2 separate regions of the Homo sapiens genome follow, and region 1 is linked to region 2. The links are contacts of gene promoters, found by promoter capture Hi-C in blood cells and fetal thymus (Javierre and others, 2016). All regions are on one chromosome and are shown on one strand. Each heading gives the region's core, a stretch centred on a gene start or on the middle of the fragment in contact. The rest is flanking DNA. Distances are from core to core; before and after follow the strand shown. Region 1 overlaps MERTK (MER proto-oncogene, tyrosine kinase). Region 2 holds the start of IL1B (interleukin 1 beta).

Region 1 (6,134 bases), core at 2,875-5,374, 840 kb after region 2:
TCTCCATCCATGATTCATGATGAAGACTGGGTGAAATGCCACGTGACCACGACCTATTTTCTAAGTTCCCCAGTGATAGGCCATGCCCAGCCAGACACCTATAGAATCAAACTTATACAGCTGTGTGGCCCCAGCTCCAGAAATGCACTTCCTGGAAGAAGGACATGGAGAGGAAATGCTGCCTTGCTCTGCCAGTGAAATCTGGTCATCTTATGGTAATGAAGAAGCCCAGCACAACCTGCCCCCTTTCTAGCTATTTCAATTAGACAAGTCAGCAAGTCACTATAGTTTCCTTAACTATATAGATTTTAAGCTGGGTGAAGTGGCTCATGCCTGTAATCCCAGAACTTTGGGAGGCCAAGGCAGGTGGATCACTTGAGGTTAGGAGTTCGAAACCAGCCTGGCCAACATGGAGAAACCCCATCTTCTCTACTAAAAATTCAAAAATTTAGCCAGGCGTGTTGGTGGGTGCCTGTAATCCCAGCTACTCAGGAGACTGAGGCGGGAGAATCACCTGAACCCAGGAGGTGCAGGCTGCAGTGAGCCAAGATGGCGCCACTGCACGCCAGCCTGTGTGACACAGTGAGACTCCATCTCAATTAAAAAAAAAAGAAAGTATTTGAGAGGGCCTAGACTGCATAGATTTTACAGTGTCCTAACTGGCATCTACCACTATTTTTGTCAACACTGTAATTTGTTCTCCTCCACACTGACATCAAAGTGAACTTTCTGGAATTTAACCTGCTCTATTCTTCATTTGGCTAAGACTCTTTTTTTTTTTGAGACGGAGTCTCACTCTGTCACCCAGGCTGGAATGCAGTGGTGTGATCTCGGCTCAATGCAACTTCCGCCTCCCGAGTTCAAGTGATTCTCCTGCCTCAGTCACCTGGGATTACAGGTGTGTGTCACCACGCCCGGCTAATTTTTGTATTTTTAGTGGAGACGGGGTTTCACCAAGTTGGTCAGGCTGGTCTCAAACTCCTGACCTTGTGATCTGCCCGCCTCAGCCTCCCAAAGTGCTGGGATTCCAGGCGTGAGCCACCGTGCCCGGCTGGTTAAGCCTCTTAATAGCGCTCTACTCCTTGCAGGATAAAGCAGGTTCTTGGCTGTGACTTACAAGACTCTCCCTGTCTCACTGCTGGCTCTCTTCCCAGCTTGCTTGGAAGTTCTAGCTTATGATAGCAACTCTTCATATGCCTTGACCAAATATTTCTCCTCTTTCTGGGGAACTTACTTGCCAGGCAGCCCGCAGCTTCCTCAGGGCCATGCAATCATCCTCAAATGAGGAAGTGGCCCCACCACACTAGACAGGCCGGCCAGAACAACCCCTGGGGTCAGATGTTGCTATTAGATCACCCCTGCCTCAGCAATTGATGCTCTACTTTGGAGTTGTTAGCTCTACTAGATGAGAGTGAGAGAAAGAGAGACAGTGAGAGAAGGAGAGAGAGCAAGACAGACAGTATGTATGCATAGGCATGCAGGAGTTAGTAAAAATAAAAAATGTTATTGCCTTGAGTATAAAGAATATGTAATGCATGCATGAAGAGCTCATTAAAGTAAGTCCCCCTTGGTGACCAGTGTTCCACATTGCCTTCTGGCCCACTGGGAACTGAGATTGTGACATATGGCCTCATGGAGCACCCAATACTGAAGCAACTGCCCACCCTAGAAGAATGGGATTCATCACTGATAACTCACACTTCATGGTCTTCACTGCCACTTTCAGAGAGGTCCCATCTTCCTGCTTAAGATTTCCTTCCATTACAGACCCAAACTCTCCTGTGAAGTGAAAGAACACCTGTATGGACACTGTGCAAACTCTTCCCTGACCACAGAAATGCTACAGTGCCAGAGCTGCTGGTTTCATGTGGTATGAGAGCAACTCACCCACGGGCAGCCAGGCAGAGCCTGCCCAGGCCACCCACATCGCAAACCAGGGTGATGCGCCACGCTCTAGTCTCCTGCTTGTCACGAGCTTGGGTGGCTTGGGCCTACCTTTGCTCATCACTTTATTAAGCATTATAACCAATCCAAGACACTTAGAAGAGAACATGAAAAATATTATTGAAGTTTTTAAAGCACAAACTTTTAATACCATTATCATTCATCCTAAGAACAACTTAACAAGTTAAATACGTATTTTCATTTTTGTTCCTAATTAGAAAGGTGCCAAGAACAATGAACTTAAGAACTAGAGGAATAAACTTAAAGTACATAGGAAACTACTCAATGAATTACATGCTTTTCAATGAAGAAAGAAAATTAATATTTTTCAAGGACCTGTATGTGCTAGGCATTGAAGAGAATCTTTTCATGTGCCAGATCTGAGTTTCAAAAATCAATAGTCTATCATTTTAAATAATAAAATATAACTATCCATAGTATAACTCAGAGTCCTGAGATGCTATTTTATTTAATAAATATATGTTAAAGAATTATTCTAAACTGCTACCTTCTTATCCCACATTTTAAAAGAATTACTTTAAATTGCTTACCTTCACCCAGAATTTTTCCAAGAATTAGAAGATTCCTGTCAATCACAACATCTTCTAGTTTATTTTGTAGTTCCTCACTGACTCCCAAGCTATGTACTGAAAAAGGAGTAACATAGTATGTACAAAAATTGTCAGCGTGTTTTCTTTCACTTGATAATTAAAATGAAATAAAGTCCTGTATAATAAAACATTCCTTATTTATTTATTTATTTATTGAGCCAGAGTCTAGCTCTGTTGCCCAGGCTGGAGTGCAATGGTGCAACCTTGGCTCACTGCAACCTCTGCCTCCTGGGTTCAAGCGATTCTTGTGCCTCAGCCTCCCAAGTAGCTGGGACTGCAGGCATGCACCACCACACCCAGCTAATTTATGTATTTTCAGTAGAGACGGGTTTTATCATCTGGGCCAGGCTGGTCTCGAACTCCTGACCTCAAGTGATCTACCCACCTCGGCCTCCCAAAGTGCTGGGATTACAGGTGTGAACCACCATAGCCGGCCCCTTTTTTCATTTTGTATCTATTATTTCTCTCCCAAAAATGCCAGTAATAAAATTTCATACTTTAGAATGATTAAACTAAGTATAATGAATCCTTCAGGGCAAGGTTAATTCTGAAGAATTACAAAAATCAGAACCACATTTCTCATTCTGTTGTGTGGTAGCAGCAGCCGGTAATCAGATTCATGTAGGGGTGGTTTGCCTTTGACTTAAAGGGGTAAGGAAGATAAGTCAATAGGTAATTTCTGGTGAATTCTTTACTATTAATATTATACCCTTGACTACAGTATACAAAAGAACCACACGTCCCCTACCCTCCCATGCCATGGACGGAGTCTCACAAACCACAGGAAACATCTAGAGAATAAGCTCTTATTTTACATACTGTATATGAAACCTATTATAACAGCATAGCAAGGGCTAAATTGAGCACTTTGAGGAATTGGAGAAAAAGATTTTTCTATAATAAAATATATAATATAGTAAGGTATATAATAGATGAGTCATGTTGGCAACAAGAGAAATTAACCAGAAGGGGACCAGTTCAACAACTCTTGGCAAATGATTCAGTCTGGACCACAGTTAAGGCATGAACAAGCTCTTGAAAGATCAAAAAAATGTGGATAATTAGGACACATTAGTTCTCAGAGAAAAAGCTTTATCCAGTGGTTCTCCAATAAAGGAAAGAAAGTGGTCTAAATGACAAATTTTAAAATTTTAAATTAAAAAAAAAATTGAGGATATCTAAAAGTCAAAACTTACAGACTAGAAAGGTAAAGAAATTAATAATATTCTACACCAAGCAAGTTTCTATTTCATAGCAACCTGTATTCTGTCATTCTTATCTATTTTCTTTATTGGGGGCAAACATCCAGAAGCATGAATTTGTTAATATTTGCATGTCCTTTCTATACTTTTTCTGAAATTATTCAGGAACACTAGTGTCTGTTTATTTCCGCTGTTTAAACCAGAAGCCCCCACTCTCTGATTCAGCAAAGCTCAAACCATAATTACTATAAAGCATGTTGGCAAATCATCCTCGGAGTTGGTTGCCAGGAAAACAGGAAATGAGGCTTGAGATTATGTTCACTAGTTAGAAGTTTTCTTTAAATCCCTGGCCTCTACCCATCTTCTGTCACCCTAGAAGGTTCCTCTTTTCTGCCACATTTCATGACATTGTGAGTCCTTTTAACCCCAGGTCAAGCTCCTGATTGCAGTAAATTAGCCCACAGAGCTGTGCATGGCAATGTCTGGCTATCTACTTGCTGCTTTTAAAGACATTTTGTACATTAAAAATATCCATTCTTCTTCGACATCTTTGGCTTTTGTTAGAAATCTGTCTATTGATCCTTCTTTGTTCTCAACTATTTTAACTTTTGCCAAAAAGGGAAATGAAAGTCAACTTACAGGTAAGTTCAATGGCTCGCCGACAGAAGGATTTCTTTGCTATATAATTCACCACTAATTCAGAATCCTCCTCTGTGAATGCATTCCTGGGTGAATGAAAACAAAGATACTTCACTATAAAAACAGGGCTACTGGGGCAGGCACTGATTCCACAAGGATGCTACAGAGCTTCCGCTTTTCAATGGGCTCTTCTACAACAAAAGCTTTCCCCCTAGAAGAAACGTGTTTCTTTCCTTTGATTTATTTTAGACTTACTTGGCAATATTGAAACTACTCTAGCCAGGTACCGCCAAGAACAGAGAATAACAGATAAGCTCCCAGTGGCCAAAGCTGTAACAGTCTGAGCAAGAAACTAAAGTAATACTAGACTATGAGTATAAAATGAATATCCATAAGTCTATACTTATGAAAATATGATTGAATGAATGAATGGAAGAAAAGACACCAATCTCCTGTGGTGAAGAATTCCAAATATTTTATGTAGCTAGTAAGGGGTGGAGGGAGTTAAACCCTCATGCTGTCAATATGGGCTATGCATAGTGACTTGCTTCCAAAGAACAGTAGGGAAAGGGAGAAAAAATAACTTCATGGTAGAGAAACCCAGCAAATACTACTTCAGCCAGGTGATCAATGTCAACATCAACAGTGATACATCATGTTAATATGCACCCTTGATAAGAAGTGATGACAATGGCATTTTAATTCTGTGCTCCTCCTCTCAATCACCCATAACCCCTGCTCATTATCAGCAAAACATCGAACACATTGCAATAGAGGGGCATCCTACAAAACACCCGACTAACACTTCTGAAAACTGGCAAGATCATCAAAGACAAGGAAGGTCTAAGAAATGGCCACAGCCAAGAGGAGCCTAAGGAGATGTGATGACTGACTGTAAAATGTGGCATCCTGGAAGGGATCCCAGAACACTAAAGGGACATTAGGTGAAAATTAAGGAAATCTCAAGAAAGTAGAGATGTTAGTTAATGACAATGGATCAATATTGGCTCATTAACTGTAACAAATGTATTGTACTAATTGTCAGGACCCTGAGCCCAAGCTAAGCCATCATATCCCCTGTGACCTGCACGTATACACCCAGATGGCCTGAAGCAACCGAAGATCCACAAAAGAAGTGAAAATAGCCAGTTCCTGCCTTACCTGATGACATTCCACCATTGTGATTTGTTCCTGCCCCACCCTAACTGATCAATTGACTTTGTGACAATACACCCTCCCTGCCCTTGGGATAATGTACTTTGTGGTATTCCCCCACCCTTGCGAATGTACTTTGTATGATACACCCTCCCTACCCTTGAGAAGGTACTTTGTAATATTCTCCCGGGCCCTTGAGAATGTACTTTGCAAGATCCACCCCCTGCTTACAAAAAATTGGTCCTCCAGTGGATATTGGATATTGGATAACTCCACTGCCTATACCAAACCTGTAAGAACTAATGATAATTCCACCATCCTTTGCTGACTCCTTTTTCGGACTCAGCCCACCTGCACCCGGGTGATTAAAAAGCTTTACTGCTCACACAAAACCTGTTGGTGGTCTCTTCACATGGACACGTGTGACACTAATAATGTAAGCTGTTAATAATAGGGGAAACTAGGTATGGAGCATATGAGAAATCTCTGTACTATCTTCTCAATGTTTCTGTAAAATTAAAACTGTTCTAAAAAATAAGGCTGGGATTCATGCCTGTAATCCCAGCACTTTGGGAAGCTGAGG
Region 2 (6,130 bases), core at 1,362-3,861:
ATGTCTTCATCTCTGTGGTCCCACCATATCCCACCAGACAATCATTAGGGCTCCTCTTAGCTGGCAGATTCTGAGGTCCTGGATGCTACAATTGGAAGATGGAGAAGTAGAAGCTCAAGGTTTCTGACCTGTATCCCAAGTCCCAGAAGCAGAATGGACTAACTCAGAGCTGATGCTCGGGTCCCTTGCATATCTCCCTTCCTGTCACTGGCTTTGATCCTCCTTCGTTCAGCTTGTAATCACATCAACAGACCAAAGACATCTCTGTGTTCTGTCAGGAGAGTTCACAGAGCCACCAACCCTCCAGACCCTGCTGGTTGCCGCATAAAGACTCTGAGGAAGGGTTTGAGGCTGCTGTGATCATGCAATGAATGCATGATTGTACCACTGCACTCCAGCCTGGGGGATAAAGGTAGATCCTGTCTAGGAGAGAGAGAGAGAGAAAGAGAAAGAGAGAGAGAAGGGAGGGAGAGACAAAGAAAAAGAGAGAGAGGGAGGGAGAAAGAAAGAGAGAAAGAAAAGAGAAAAGAAAGAAAAAGAAAGAAAGAGAGAGAGGGAGGGAGGGAGAGAGAAAGAAAGAAAGAAAGAGAAAGAGAGAAAGAGAGAAAGAGAAAGAAAGGAAGAAAGAAAGAAAGAAAGAAAGAAAGAAAGAAAGAAAGAAAGAAAAGAAAAGAAAGAAAGAGAGAGAGAAAGAAAAAGAAAGAGGAAGGAAGGAAGGAAGGAAGAAAGACAGGCTCTGAGGAAGGTGGCAGTTCCTACAACGGGAGAACCAGTGGTTAATTTGCAAAGTGGATCCTGTGGAGGCAAAACAGAGGAGTCCCCTAGGCCACCCAGACAGGGCTTTTAGCTATCTGCAGGACCAGACACCAAATTTCAGGAGGGCTCAGTGTTAGGAATGGATTATGGCTTATCAAATTCACAGGAAACTAACATGTTGAACAGCTTTTAGATTTCCTGTGGAAAATATAACTTACTAAAGATGGAGTTCTTGTGACTGACTCCTGATATCAAGATACTGGGAGCCAAATTAAAAATCAGAAGGCTGCTTGGAGAGCAAGTCCATGAAATGCTCTTTTTCCCACAGTAGAACCTATTTCCCTCGTGTCTCAAATACTTGCACAGAGGCTCACTCCCTTGGATAATGCAGAGCGAGCACGATACCTGGCACATACTAATTTGAATAAAAATGCTGTCAAATTCCCATTCACCCATTCAAGCAGCAAACTCTACCACCTGAATGTACATGCCAGGCACTGTGCTAGACTTGGCTCAAAAAGATTTCAGTTTCCTGGAGGAACCAGGAGGAGCAAGGTTTCAACTCAGTGCTATAAGAAGTGTTACAGGCTGGACACGGTGGCTCACGCCTGTAATCCCAACACTTTGGGAGGCCGAGGCGGGCAGATCACAAGGTCAGGAGATCGAGACCATCCTGGCTAACATGGTGAAACCCTGTCTCTACTAAAAATACAAAAAATTAGCCGGGCGTGGCGGCAGGTGCCTGTAGTCCCAGCTGCTGGGGAGGCTGAGGCAGGAGAATGGTGTGAACCCGGGAGGCGGAACTTGCAGGGGGCCGAGATCGTGCCACTGCACTCCAGCCTGGGCGACAGAGTGAGACTCTGTCTCAAAAAAAAAAAAAAAGTGTTATGATGCAGACCTGTCAAAGAGGCAAAGGAGGGTGTTCCTACACTCCAGGCACTGTTCATAACCTGGACTCTCATTCATTCTACAAATGGAGGGCTCCCCTGGGCAGTACCCTGGAGCAGGCACTTTGCTGGTGTCTCGGTTAAAGAGAAACTGATAACTCTTGGTTGGTATTACCAAGAGATAGAGTCTCAGATGGATATTCTTACAGAAACAATATTCCACTTTTCAGAGTTCACCAAAAAATCATTTTAGGCAGAGCTCATCTGGCATTGATCTGGTTCATCCATGAGATTGGCTAGGGTAACAGCACCTGGTCTTGCAGGGTTGTGTGAGCTTATCTCCAGGGTTGCCCCAACTCCGTCAGGAGCCTGAACCCTGCATACCGTATGTTCTCTGCCCCAGCCAAGAAAGGTCAATTTTCTCCTCAGAGGCTCCTGCAATTGACAGAGAGCTCCTGAGGCAGAGAACAGCACCCAAGGTAGAGACCCACACCCTCAATACAGACAGGGAGGGCTATTGGCCCTTCATTGTACCCATTTATCCATCTGTAAGTGGGAAGATTCCTAAACTTAAGTACAAAGAAGTGAATGAAGAAAAGTATGTGCATGTATAAATCTGTGTGTCTTCCACTTTGTCCCACATATACTAAATTTAAACATTCTTCTAACGTGGGAAAATCCAGTATTTTAATGTGGACATCAACTGCACAACGATTGTCAGGAAAACAATGCATATTTGCATGGTGATACATTTGCAAAATGTGTCATAGTTTGCTACTCCTTGCCCTTCCATGAACCAGAGAATTATCTCAGTTTATTAGTCCCCTCCCCTAAGAAGCTTCCACCAATACTCTTTTCCCCTTTCCTTTAACTTGATTGTGAAATCAGGTATTCAACAGAGAAATTTCTCAGCCTCCTACTTCTGCTTTTGAAAGCCATAAAAACAGCGAGGGAGAAACTGGCAGATACCAAACCTCTTCGAGGCACAAGGCACAACAGGCTGCTCTGGGATTCTCTTCAGCCAATCTTCATTGCTCAAGTATGACTTTAATCTTCCTTACAACTAGGTGCTAAGGGAGTCTCTCTGTCTCTCTGCCTCTTTGTGTGTATGCATATTCTCTCTCTCTCTCTCTTTCTTTCTCTGTCTCTCCCTCTCCTTCCCTCTCTGCCTCCCTCTCTCAGCTTTTTGCAAAAATGCCAGGTGTAATATAATGCTTATGACTCGGGAAATATTCTGGGAATGGATACTGCTTATCTAACAGCTGACACCCTAAAGGTTAGTGTCAAAGCCTCTGCTCCAGCTCTCCTAGCCAATACATTGCTAGTTGGGGTTTGGTTTAGCAAATGCTTTTCTCTAGACCCAAAGGACTTCTCTTTCACACATTCATTCATTTACTCAGAGATCATTTCTTTGCATGACTGCCATGCACTGGATGCTGAGAGAAATCACACATGAACGTAGCCGTCATGGGGAAGTCACTCATTTTCTCCTTTTTACACAGGTGTCTGAAGCAGCCATGGCAGAAGTACCTGAGCTCGCCAGTGAAATGATGGCTTATTACAGGTCAGTGGAGACGCTGAGACCAGTAACATGAGCAGGTCTCCTCTTTCAAGAGTAGAGTGTTATCTGTGCTTGGAGACCAGATTTTTCCCCTAAATTGCCTCTTTCAGTGGCAAACAGGGTGCCAAGTAAATCTGATTTAAAGACTACTTTCCCATTACAAGTCCCTCCAGCCTTGGGACCTGGAGGCTATCCAGATGTGTTGTTGCAAGGGCTTCCTGCAGAGGCAAATGGGGAGAAAAGACTCCAAGCCCACAATACAAGGAATCCCTTTGCAAAGTGTGGCTTGGAGGGAGAGGGAGAGCTCAGATTTTAGCTGACTCTGCTGGGCTAGAGGTTAGGCCTCAAGATCCAACAGGGAGCACCCAGGGTGCCCACCTGCCAGGCCTAGAATCTGCCTTCTGGACTGTTCTGCGCATATCACTGTGAAACTTGCCAGGTGTTTCAGGCAGCTTTGAGAGGCAGGCTGTTTGCAGTTTCTTATGAACAGTCAAGTCTTGTACACAGGGAAGGAAAAATAAACCTGTTTAGAAGACATAATTGAGACATGTCCCTGTTTTTATTACAGTGGCAATGAGGATGACTTGTTCTTTGAAGCTGATGGCCCTAAACAGATGAAGGTAAGACTATGGGTTTAACTCCCAACCCAAGGAAGGGCTCTAACACAGGGAAAGCTCAAAGAAGGGAGTTCTGGGCCACTTTGATGCCATGGTATTTTGTTTTAGAAAGACTTTAACCTCTTCCAGTGAGACACAGGCTGCACCACTTGCTGACCTGGCCACTTGGTCATCATATCACCACAGTCACTCACTAACGTTGGTGGTGGTGGCCACACTTGGTGGTGACAGGGGAGGAGTAGTGATAATGTTTCCCATTTCATAGTAGGAAGACAACCAAGTCTTCAACATAAATTTGATTATCCTTTTAAGAGATGGATTCAGCCTATGCCAATCACTTGAGTTAAACTCTGAAACCAAGAGATGATCTTGAGAACTAACATATGTCTACCCCTTTTGAGTAGAATAGTTTTTTGCTACCTGGGGTGAAGCTTATAACAACAAGACATAGATGATATAAACAAAAAGATGAATTGAGACTTGAAAGAAAACCATTCACTTGCTGTTTGACCTTGACAAGTCATTTTACCCGCTTTGGACCTCATCTGAAAAATAAAGGGCTGAGCTGGATGATCTCTGAGATTCCAGCATCCTGCAACCTCCAGTTCTGAAATATTTTCAGTTGTAGCTAAGGGCATTTGGGCAGCAAATGGTCATTTTTCAGACTCATCCTTACAAAGAGCCATGTTATATTCCTGCTGTCCCTTCTGTTTTATATGATGCTCAGTAGCCTTCCTAGGTGGCCCAGCCATCAGCCTAGCTAGGTCAGTTGTGCAGGTTGGGAGGCAGCCACTTTTCTCTGGCTTTATTTTATTCCAGTTTGTGATAGCCTCCCCTAGCCTCATAATCCAGTCCTCAATCTTGTTAAAAACATATTTCTTTAGAAGTTTTAAGACTGGCATAACTTGTTGGCTGCAGCTGTGGGAGGAGCCCATTGGCTTGTCTGCCTGGCCTTTGCCCCCATTGCCTCTTCCAGCAGCTTGGCTCTGCTCCAGGCAGGAAATTCTCTCCTGCTCAACTTTCTTTTGTGCACTTACAGGTCTCTTTAACTGTCTTTCAAGCCTTTGAACCATTATCATGCCTTAAGGCAACCTCAGTGAAGCCTTAATACGGAGCTTCTCTGAATAAGAGGAAAGTGGTAACATTTCACAAAAAGTACTCTCACAGGATTTGCAGAATGCCTATGAGACAGTGTTATGAAAAAGGAAAAAAAAGAACAGTGTAGAAAAATTGAATACTTGCTGAGTGAGCATAGGTGAATGGAAAATGTTATGGTCATCTGCATGAAAAAGCAAATCATAGTGTGACAGCATTAGGGATACAAAAAGATATAGAGAAGGTATACATGTATGGTGTAGGTGGGGCATGTACAAAAAAGATGAACAAAGTAGAAATGGGATTTATTCTAAAAGAATAGCCTGTAAGGTGTCAGAAAGCCCACATTCTAGTCTTGAGTCTGCCTCTAACCTGCTGTGTGCCCTTGAGTACACACTTAACCTCCTTGAGCTTCAGAGAGGGATAATCTTTTTATTTTATTTTATTTTATTTTGTTTTGTTTTGTTTTGTTTTGTTTTATGAGACAGAGTCTCACTCTGTTGCCCAGGCTGGAGTGCAGTGGTACAATCTTGGCTTACTGCATCCTCCACCTCCTGAGTTCAAGCGATTCTCCTTCCTCAGTCTCCTGAATAGCTAGGATTACAGGTGCACCCCACCACACCCAGCTAATTTTTGTATTTTTAGTAGAGAAGGGGTTTCGCCATGTTGGCCAGGCTGGTTTTGAAGTCCTGACCTAAATGATTCATCCACCTCGGCTTCCCAAAGTGCTGGGATTACAGGCATGAGCCACCACGCCTGGCCCAGAGAGGGATGATCTTTAGAAGCTCGGGATTCTTTCAAGCCCTTTCCTCCTCTCTGAGCTTTCTACTCTCTGATGTCAAAGCATGGTTCCTGGCAGGACCACCTCACCAGGCTCCCTCCCTCGCTCTCTCCGCAGTGCTCCTTCCAGGACCTGGACCTCTGCCCTCTGGATGGCGGCATCCAGCTACGAATCTCCGACCACCACTACAGCAAGGGCTTCAGGCAGGCCGCGTCAGTTGTTGTGGCCATGGACAAGCTGAGGAAGATGCTGGTTCCCTGCCCACAGACCTTCCAGGAGAATGACCTGAGCACCTTCTTTCCCTTCATCTTTGAAGAAGGTAGTTAGCCAAGAGCAGGCAGTAGATCTCCACTTGTGTCCTCTTGGAAGTCATCAAGCCCCAGCCAACTCAATTCCCCCAGAGCCAAAGCCCTTTAAAGGTAGAAGGCCCAGC

Evidence for each region. Contacts are between HindIII fragments. The CHiCAGO score rates a contact against its expected background, and 5 or more counts as called.
Region 1: a contact is called between a fragment that was not itself captured here and the fragment with the promoter of IL1B in region 2, in 1 of 17 cell types (monocytes). The highest score is 5.9, in monocytes.

What each region holds. Positions count from the first base shown.
Region 1 is chr2:111,999,549-112,005,682 of GRCh38, reverse strand. It overlaps MERTK (MER proto-oncogene, tyrosine kinase), which reads right to left. Exons shown (of 19, transcript NM_006343.3): 11 at 4,397-4,482; 12 at 2,496-2,591; 13 at 1,699-1,779. Among named protein-coding and RNA genes, the nearest start is that of TMEM87B, 53 kb to the left of the region's middle. The HindIII fragment of the contact is 954 bases long and covers 3,648-4,601 here.
Region 2 is chr2:112,833,260-112,839,389 of GRCh38, reverse strand. IL1B (interleukin 1 beta) reads left to right here and starts at 2,611. Exons shown (of 7, transcript NM_000576.3): 1 at 2,611-2,682; 2 at 3,146-3,207; 3 at 3,773-3,824; 4 at 5,815-6,016. The coding sequence starts at 3,161. The HindIII fragment of the contact is 1,771 bases long and covers 2,484-4,254 here.